2 separate regions of the Homo sapiens genome follow, and region 1 is linked to region 2. The links are contacts of gene promoters, found by promoter capture Hi-C in blood cells and fetal thymus (Javierre and others, 2016). All regions are on one chromosome and are shown on one strand. Each heading gives the region's core, a stretch centred on a gene start or on the middle of the fragment in contact. The rest is flanking DNA. Distances are from core to core; before and after follow the strand shown.

Evidence for each region. The method cuts DNA at HindIII sites, captures the fragments that hold promoters and counts their contacts. A CHiCAGO score of 5 or more calls a contact.
Region 1: a contact is called between a fragment that was not itself captured here and the fragment with the promoter of VSIG4 in region 2, in 1 of 17 cell types (M0 macrophages). The highest score is 5.7, in M0 macrophages.

What each region holds. Positions count from the first base shown.
Region 1 is chrX:63,750,378-63,754,437 of GRCh38, forward strand. All of the region lies in intron 1 of ARHGEF9 (Cdc42 guanine nucleotide exchange factor 9), which reads right to left. Among named protein-coding and RNA genes, the nearest start is that of ARHGEF9, 33 kb to the right of the region's middle. The HindIII fragment of the contact is 1,252 bases long and covers 2,096-3,347 here.
Region 2 is chrX:66,037,605-66,041,815 of GRCh38, forward strand. VSIG4 (V-set and immunoglobulin domain containing 4) reads right to left here and starts at 2,476. Exons shown (of 8, transcript NM_007268.3): 1 at 2,340-2,476. The coding sequence starts at 2,394. The HindIII fragment of the contact is 1,000 bases long and covers 1,973-2,972 here.

The sequences.
Region 1 (4,060 bases), core at 1,472-3,971, 2.3 Mb before region 2:
GAGAGTCTCTGAGCCAGGGTCCAAGCCCTGTTTACCAGCTCCATTATCAAACTTGCTCTTTCAACTTGTCCAGCCTCCCCCGTCAGAAACTACTACACCAAAACCACAGAAAGAAAAATTCCCAAATTCTATAAAGCTAGGCTGATCAGGATTCCCCAAGCCACAGACAAAATTGGGGCACACTGCACAAGCACACTGCAGGTTCTGACAGATGGAGGCTGTCTCAATGGAAGAAGAATGCTGTTCAGTTTGTTCCCACCAAGATATCACTTCACCCCCTCCCTGATGCAGCCAAAAGTTAGGGTGAAAAAAATTGTTTTTTCAGGACCGGCAGAGCTTCTGGCACTAAAGCTAGGCAGTAAAATGGCACAGTTAATCTTAAGGAGATGGGACTGACTAGAAAGGAATTTGAAACCAGGAGTTTTCTAATAAATAATCTCATAGCTGGACGAGGCTAGGCTCTACATGTCTGCTGTGGACATGTTTCCGAGGCATTTGCAGGAAATTGGGATTCTGTTCTTTCTTTGTTCCCTCCCCAAAAGCATCTCTCCAAGTCCCACTAGGCTCTAGTCCCCTTTTTCTAGAGTTATTGGTGCCTGGGCCTTTAAAGGGTGGGCTCTGGAGCTCAGTGGGTGCTCAGTGATACAGGGGTTGCTAGGATACCAGTAGAGGGCATTTTCTTTAATTCTTTGATGGGGATCCAGGAGCGAAAATCCCTAAGCTGGGATTTTGCCCCTCCTACATGGCAAAAGCTTATCCTCTACTCAAAGGGGCCAGAGAGGAGGGAAGGGAATGGAGGAGCTTTATTGGGAAAAGTTGGGACAAATCAGAGAGGAAAAGTCCTCTTCTCTTTTTTACTTCTCACCCATTTACAGTGGGGAGGTGGGAGGAGGAGGTGGTGTCAGGGGTGGGAAGAAAGGAAGAAGGAGAAAGATTAAGAGAGAAGGCAGAGGAGGAAGGAAAAAAGAAGACAAGTCAAAATGCATAGGGTTCCGCTTCTCTGGGCTGCATTTCTCATTTTCTCCCACTCTTTTCTCTTTTTGCTAGAGAAAAATATCCTCACAAGTCTGAAGCAGAAATGCCAAACCTTTAGGATTCACACAAGTAAAAAGTCACACTGCTACCTTTTGTTCTCTACTCTCAAATTCCCTTCTGGTTGCTAGATGGTGGCCTGCCATCTGGCTAGCAACATCCCTTTATTTGCCTGGAGACAATTTTAAAAGCGCTAACCCATTTCAACAGCTAAATTACTAATGGAAGGGCTCATTCAAGACACCTCCTTAGCCTGAGGGGTTTTAGGTGGTGAAAAGAGGAATGGCATGGGTGATACCCATCCATCCCAGCATTTGTGAAATCCTTATAGGTCCTAGCACAAGGAGGCTATTCAGAACTGTGGAACTCAATACTGTCTTTCTTCATTCCTACCACCACACCCCGCATCCACACTCAGGAGTGTGCTCCCCCCCACACACCCCCATGAACATACTGCCACACACCCTACACACACACATACATTCCCAGAGGCTTTCTGCCAAAGGTCTGTCAGGCTCACAGAGGAGAAGGCATTTCGTGACACTATTTAAGTCATAAACCTAGATCAAAGACTAGTCTCAGAGACCCCTTCTCCCCTTGGGGGAAAAAAAGTCAAAAAGCATTCCCTTATTGCTGTCCCAGTTTCCTTCCCAAATAACTAGGCAAAAAAAACCCCTTCGCTTAAACTTGTTATCCAGGCTGTAGTACCAGATATCCTTCCCCTCCTCCCATCACCCTTTGATTAACATTTTCTTTTCCTTTTCACTTGTCTTTCCAGCTCATCCCCCCCACCCCCCACAACTTCAAGTGTCTAGGGGTCATAAAATCATAAAATGCAAGAACTTGGAAGTCACCTAGTGGAGCCATCAAAAAATGCCAATGTTACTGGGAATCCCAAACCCACCGAGGAGGAAAAAAATTGTCCAAGGTCAAACAGCTGCTGAATGGAAAAAACAAAAAACAAAACAAAACAAAACAAAAAAACAGGTCTGCAGCTGCCCAGCATAGAGCCATTCCCCACTCTCCAACACTGTATCAAAACAAAGTGCCCAGAAAAGATATAAGCTTACTTTAAATAATACAATGAAGCTAAGGGGGGAAAAAAACTCACTAAATTATCTTTGCAAAGAAATAGGTTCTCAGTTCCATCCAGGGGGTCTCCACAAACGGACCAAAGAGTAATTAATAAGAACCAATGCCAGCAAACCTCCCAGATCATGTTTACACCATGGTACTAATCTCACAAAAACCTCAGCTTCTCACCCACACCAAGTCAAGGATAGCATGCTTTGAGGCCCAAAACACCCTCTGACGCCATTAAATAATACTCTCTGGGTCCTGTGGCCAAGACAATTTCAAAGGCCCCCTTCACAGCCCCTCTCCTTTCATAATCATTTCCAAAGAGACTGAACAACCGGACATGGAACTTGACAGCATAATGCCAGCAGATTTGCACATCAGACATGAACAGCCACCCACATGGGTGGAGGGGGAGCATGTGTGTAGATGTGTATGTGTCCTGATTCACTGCTATAATACATGAGCCATAAATGGCATTATTTCAAGCCAGGTAAGCAATGGAATGGGGAAAGCCTGCCTACATTAACAGGGGAGAAAGAAAATCAAAACGCAAAAAAACAAGTATTATACAGACTGGCATGAGACATTTTTTTTCCTGGCTCTGCCAAGAGCTTTCTCAGAGGAAACAGAAATATAAAAATAATAGCAATAGCAATAACAACAGAAACCACCACCACCATCTGATACAGACAAGCAGTCATATCTCAAACTGGAATGTTGCTTCCAGCTCATGTTTTCCATGCTCTCATCCCTTTCCTTCTAGACGTTTTTGGGTTTTGGTGGTCAAATTTAGCACCAAAATTTGATAACTCTTAATTTAGCACATTACAGACTTTCAGTTTGTTATGGGAATGTTTCAATTACAGAGACCTCTGATCTTAAAGTAACAAACGGGAGCAAACAATAGCATCACCACTTTCTCATCAGCCTTATCAAGTTACATTTAAAATGTAGTTCAAGAACATCATTGCAAACGAGATTATCCCAAAGGAGCCATATCCAAATACTATTATTCCCAAGGTGGATAAAGAGCTGTTTTTTCTTTCTTGTGGGGTTTTTTTTTTTTTTTGATGAGACAAACAAAATCCCCAAACTCAAATCCAGGGGTACAATCTTTGGGAAAGGGAGCCCAAATAGCTCCTGTCAAAGTCCTCTCTTGCCAGTTCAAAAAATCAGAGAATGCTTTCACATACTATTTCATGATTCCAAGGAAATTGACATTTTAAATATCTTAAAGCTTTAAGGTTCAAGAAGTGTTTTAAATGTGGCTTCTTTCAAAATTGAAAATTGTGAACCCTGGAGAGCAAATTGAGATTCAAAGGACACAGTCACCAACTGCCAGCACAACACACCCGTGTCACTTCCCAAATTCTTGCTTCTCCTTAGACACTAAAGAAGCATTTTCCCTAAATCCATTCCTTGCATCGATTATTTTCCCTCTAAATATCCACTGCAAAGACTGTCTTTCCTATGATGTCAAATATTCATCATGCTCTTCCACAAACCCTTTTCCCCTCAAACAAACCCAAATGCACTCCTGATGGCAAGAGAGAAATTTTGACTAAAATTCCCTGATGGAGTTTAAAGGTAGTCTTCAAGGAAATGAGTTAAGACACCACAGACAGCAAAGCCACTGTTTAAGGACGCAGAGCTTGCTCCATGAACGCCACATAGATTAAAAATGCACACACGCATGCACACTTAAATAGAAAGCATTTCTTCATCAACAATTTCACTCAAGCAATAGGCAACTATACGCGCAGGCATTCTTAAAAGACAAGACACGACAAAAGATTTAGGGAGAGATAATATACCAACGTCATACATATCACAGCGAGGCCATGTTGAAGCTCAAAACGTTTTCCCCCCTGAGTAAGAAAGCTTGTTCTTTCTCTCTCTTTCCCTGTCTCTGTCTGTGATTTTTTTTTTTTCTCGGTGGCTCTCGGGA
Region 2 (4,211 bases), core at 1,226-3,725:
ACTTTACTGATAATTACTTATATATAATATATAATAATTATATAATTATTACTGATAATTACTTATATATAATATATAACATTATATTATATTATACTTATTACTGATAAGTATATATACTTATTACTAAGTATATAAACTTATTACTGATACGTATATATACTTATTGCTGATAAGTATATATACTTATTGCTGATAAGTATATATACAGTATTGAGCTTAATGTGGTCCTGAGACCCAGCCTTATAAAAGCAAATGTCTGATGCCTGTGTAATGGCACTGAAGAAAAGAAAGGTTGAATTTACTAGGTGTGTGCTCCTTTATAAGACCCATTCTAGGTCTCTTTCTGAATCCCCTTCCTCCCATCATCACAAAGAGGTTGACATTTTCCATATCTCTATCCCATTCCCCCACATGACTGGCTTCTCTCCCTTTCCTGGAATGCCTCCTGGATGGAGGATTAACTTATATAATAGATGTTTATAAAATGTTTCTGAAATGTTTAAAATGTATATAAAATGTGAATATTAGAAATTTTTTAAATTTTGATTATCTTGACATATCTCTTAGCCCCACAGGAAGAGGCTAGCAGCTTACTCTGGCCGCTACAGGGTTTTTAGCAGTGAAGCTGCAGTCCCACAGAGTTGTCCAGCTGAGAAACCCCTTTAAGACCAGTCAAGTCAACCTCCTCACTGTACAGATGGGCTAGGAACAATGAGGTCCAGGGAGAGGGAAGGTATTATTTGCAGCTCAGCATAACCTGAGCCTGAGGTCTATAGTATAAGATCCTGTGTACAAATGGAAGGCCTGCTTCCAGGTCTGGAAAAGCTCATAGGCTGGGGAAGGAACAAGACACATGAGTGCTCTCTCTCTCTCTCACACACACACACACACACACACACATGAATGCACACACACATACACACACACAAACAAAGGATTTAAATTTAACATTTCTAAAATGCTCCCTCAAGCCCCAGGCTTAAGCCCTAGCTCAAACCAACAGACTTGGAGAAGGTAGAGAGATACATTATAAAACCTGCTAGAGAATGGAAATGTGGTAGTTATAGAAAGAAAAATGTTTTTTCAGGAGCATTAACTCTGCCACTAATGCTCTTTGGCTTGGGGGCAAATTATTTTTTCTCTTGGTTGACTTAATTCAGAGTCTTTTCTAACTCTGAGGTTCCAGAGTGTGATGGGTCACAGAGCCCCAGGATAGGGTAACCTAATCAGAGTCAGCTACGGAAAGCTGGATTCTTTCTGACCTAACAAGTGACACCAAGCTAACACCTATCCAGCCTTTTTCTCTAGGGATGATAGGGAAGCAGCAAAATCCCCCTTTACCCTATATTGGATCTCACTTAGCTGTTACCCAGGTTGAGTTTCCTGAAAATCCATCTCACTTCTCAGGAGTGTAGATGAGGATAGAGCTTCCCAAGCTCCAAGGAAATAATGCCACTATGGAATAGTCCATCCTCCTTTGGGATTTGTATCCAGCCCATAAATAGCCCAGACAAATTGAGCCATGTCTATAGGGAAGTGAGTTATCCCAGGAATGGGTAAGAAACCAAGTCCTATGAAGACCAGTTGAAAAAGCTGGGGCTGTTCAGCTTGGAGGAGAGAAGAGTCAAGGAGACATAGTACTTGTCCTCAGGGCTTTGAAGGGCTATCACAGGGCAAGGAAGCATCTATGTTCTGTGTAGCCCCAAGAAGCAAAGCTGGGGTTTTTGGATGGAAGTCAGAGGGAACTGGATTTAGTTCAACACAAATAAGAACTTTCTAACAGTTGGAGCTGCTCCTGGATGGACTAGATGGTCTGGGGAGGTAGTGAACAGTGAAATCTCAATCACTACTGGATGTTTCTGAGCACTTATTCATGACAATGAAGGGTGGTATAGGTTACTTCTATAGTCCTATCCAACTCTTAGAAAACACTCCTTCTTCGGGGGCTGTATATTTTAACAGAGACCAAAGCTTGGAAGCAGAGTGGTTAAGTCCAATTGTAGAATTTTAGATGAGAGACAGCAGATGGAGGAAAGATTCGGATGTCATTGGGAACCTTCTTGATGCCCCTGAGATACAAGCCCTAGAAAATAATGCAGATGTTTTCCAAGAGAAAAATCCTTTTTCAATTTCTGCCCAAACTTGCCTTCTGGCTTCTTCAGCAGCCTTCAACTACATCCATCCGTTTTGCTCAAGGCTGAGAGAGCCTGCAGAGTTTGGCTGAGAAGACTCACCTGCCCAGTAGGAATAGGCTTTCCATAGTAGACATTAAACACCAACCCTCTAGCCTTTTGCCTAAGCCAGCAATGGCAGCCAGGCCCCCCTTTCTGCCTTACCATAAGTGTCCACTGTTAGGTGCCCCAGGAGTAGCAGGCCCAGTAAGATCCCCATCACAGCCAGAGCTACTTCTGTCCTTTCTTCCAGCCTCCTGCTACCAAAGAGGCTCAAACTTCTGGTGGCCGCCAGCGTCTGTGACTGCTTACTTCCCTTCCTTCCCTATATCTCTCACTCAAACTCCTAGTCCCATCACACATTCCCCTTCCTTCCCTATTTCAGTACAGGTCATGTGGGGTGCCCCCCTTCCCCCACCTCCTTGGGGTTGGAGGTTCCAGGATGAGTGAAGCAATTCTTCCCCCTGCTAGGGTATTGACTTGACTTTCCTTGGAGCCAATGGGGCTTTCTGGTCTTTGATCTCCTAGGCTGTATTTATTTTGAGTCTCCTCCACAAGATTCAGAGGTTGTGGGGGCGACCTTTGGGATGAGTCTTCCCACTCCAGTATGGCGGTGTTTTCCTTTGTGGTGAGCCCAGGGAGAAGAGATCAACTTTGCTGACCTACCCAATTTTCATTAGTTGTACTGTTAACCCTTGCCTGTGCAGCCTATGCAACTGGACAGGGTGTTGGGCCCGGGGTGCTTTTGGGCTTAAGAGTACAAGAGTTTAGTGTATTAAAGGGCTTTCTACACATCAAAGCTTGAATAATTGACAAGCCAATGGATAAGGCTGTTATGGGTGAATATGCCTCATATCTCATATTGGGGAAGCTCTTTGAATCACTTTCTACAATGGCTCCACCTCTCTGATGGTAAGGGAGAATTCATTTTCATTAATGTTCTCCATGCTTTTTCATAAGGAATTTATTTTTTACTTCTTTTAAGGGAAATTTAAGCCTAGCCTCCAGTGCAGCAGCCCATTAGTGGTATGCTGTATTAGGTTGAATTTTTCATTGACTTCCAATTGGTACAGGCCCTTGACCTACAAGAGAGTAATATTATGCCTCCTAGCAAAGCTCAACTGCTCCAGAAATTGCTCCTCTTCACAGGCCCCAGAGTGACTGTAATTTCATCAGCAGTCTAACTAGGTTTGGCACTGCGCTTTGTCTACTAAGCTTTGAAACAATAAGCACTTTCAAAAGCACAAATACATCCCAAAAATTCATACTGCACTGTAAGTAACAGCTAAGCTTAGTTTACTCTTTGATTGGAGGGATAGGAAAGGACTTGGTCAGGGGAGGGAGGAGTTTGTGCAGAGATGGGGAGTGGGAATATAAAGAAACATACTTGCCAAGGGGTGGCTGCATGCAGATGATTTGGAGCTGTGCACGGGCTAAGGAGACATTCCAGCATTTCAGGACACATTATTACATGGAATTCTATCAATCACCTCTGCCTCTAGGGCCCAATCCCCCTTGGCTGGTTGTTCCTTGTTTTTTGAGTACTGCACTCATTCCATCTCACTGGAAATTTCAGCCATTTTTTCCCACCGGGTCCTCACTCAGGAAACCCTGAACTTCACAGAACCCTCCTTTGATATTTTTCAACCAACACCCTATCACCACTACACCACCACCACCGCACAGACACACACACACACACACACACACACACGCACACACATACACACACACACACCCCTCCCCTTCCCCGCTAAAAAGCCCACTGGACAGATGTAAATTTCTGCCTGGCCAGGTGATTGTGTGTTTTGTGCTACCTCTTGCATTTTATTAGGACCTCCTGGATCTGAAGATAAATAAATGTCCTGGGGAGTATGCACAACATTACTTCAAGGCTGGGAAAGACTTCCAGTCTTGCAGTAGGCTCAGTAGCCCTCTTGATTAGTAAAAGAATTGGATGAGAAGTCAGAAACCTGGAGATAAGCCTGGCTCTGTGTCTACTTCATTCTGAGATCTTGAACAAGTCAAATCTCTCTG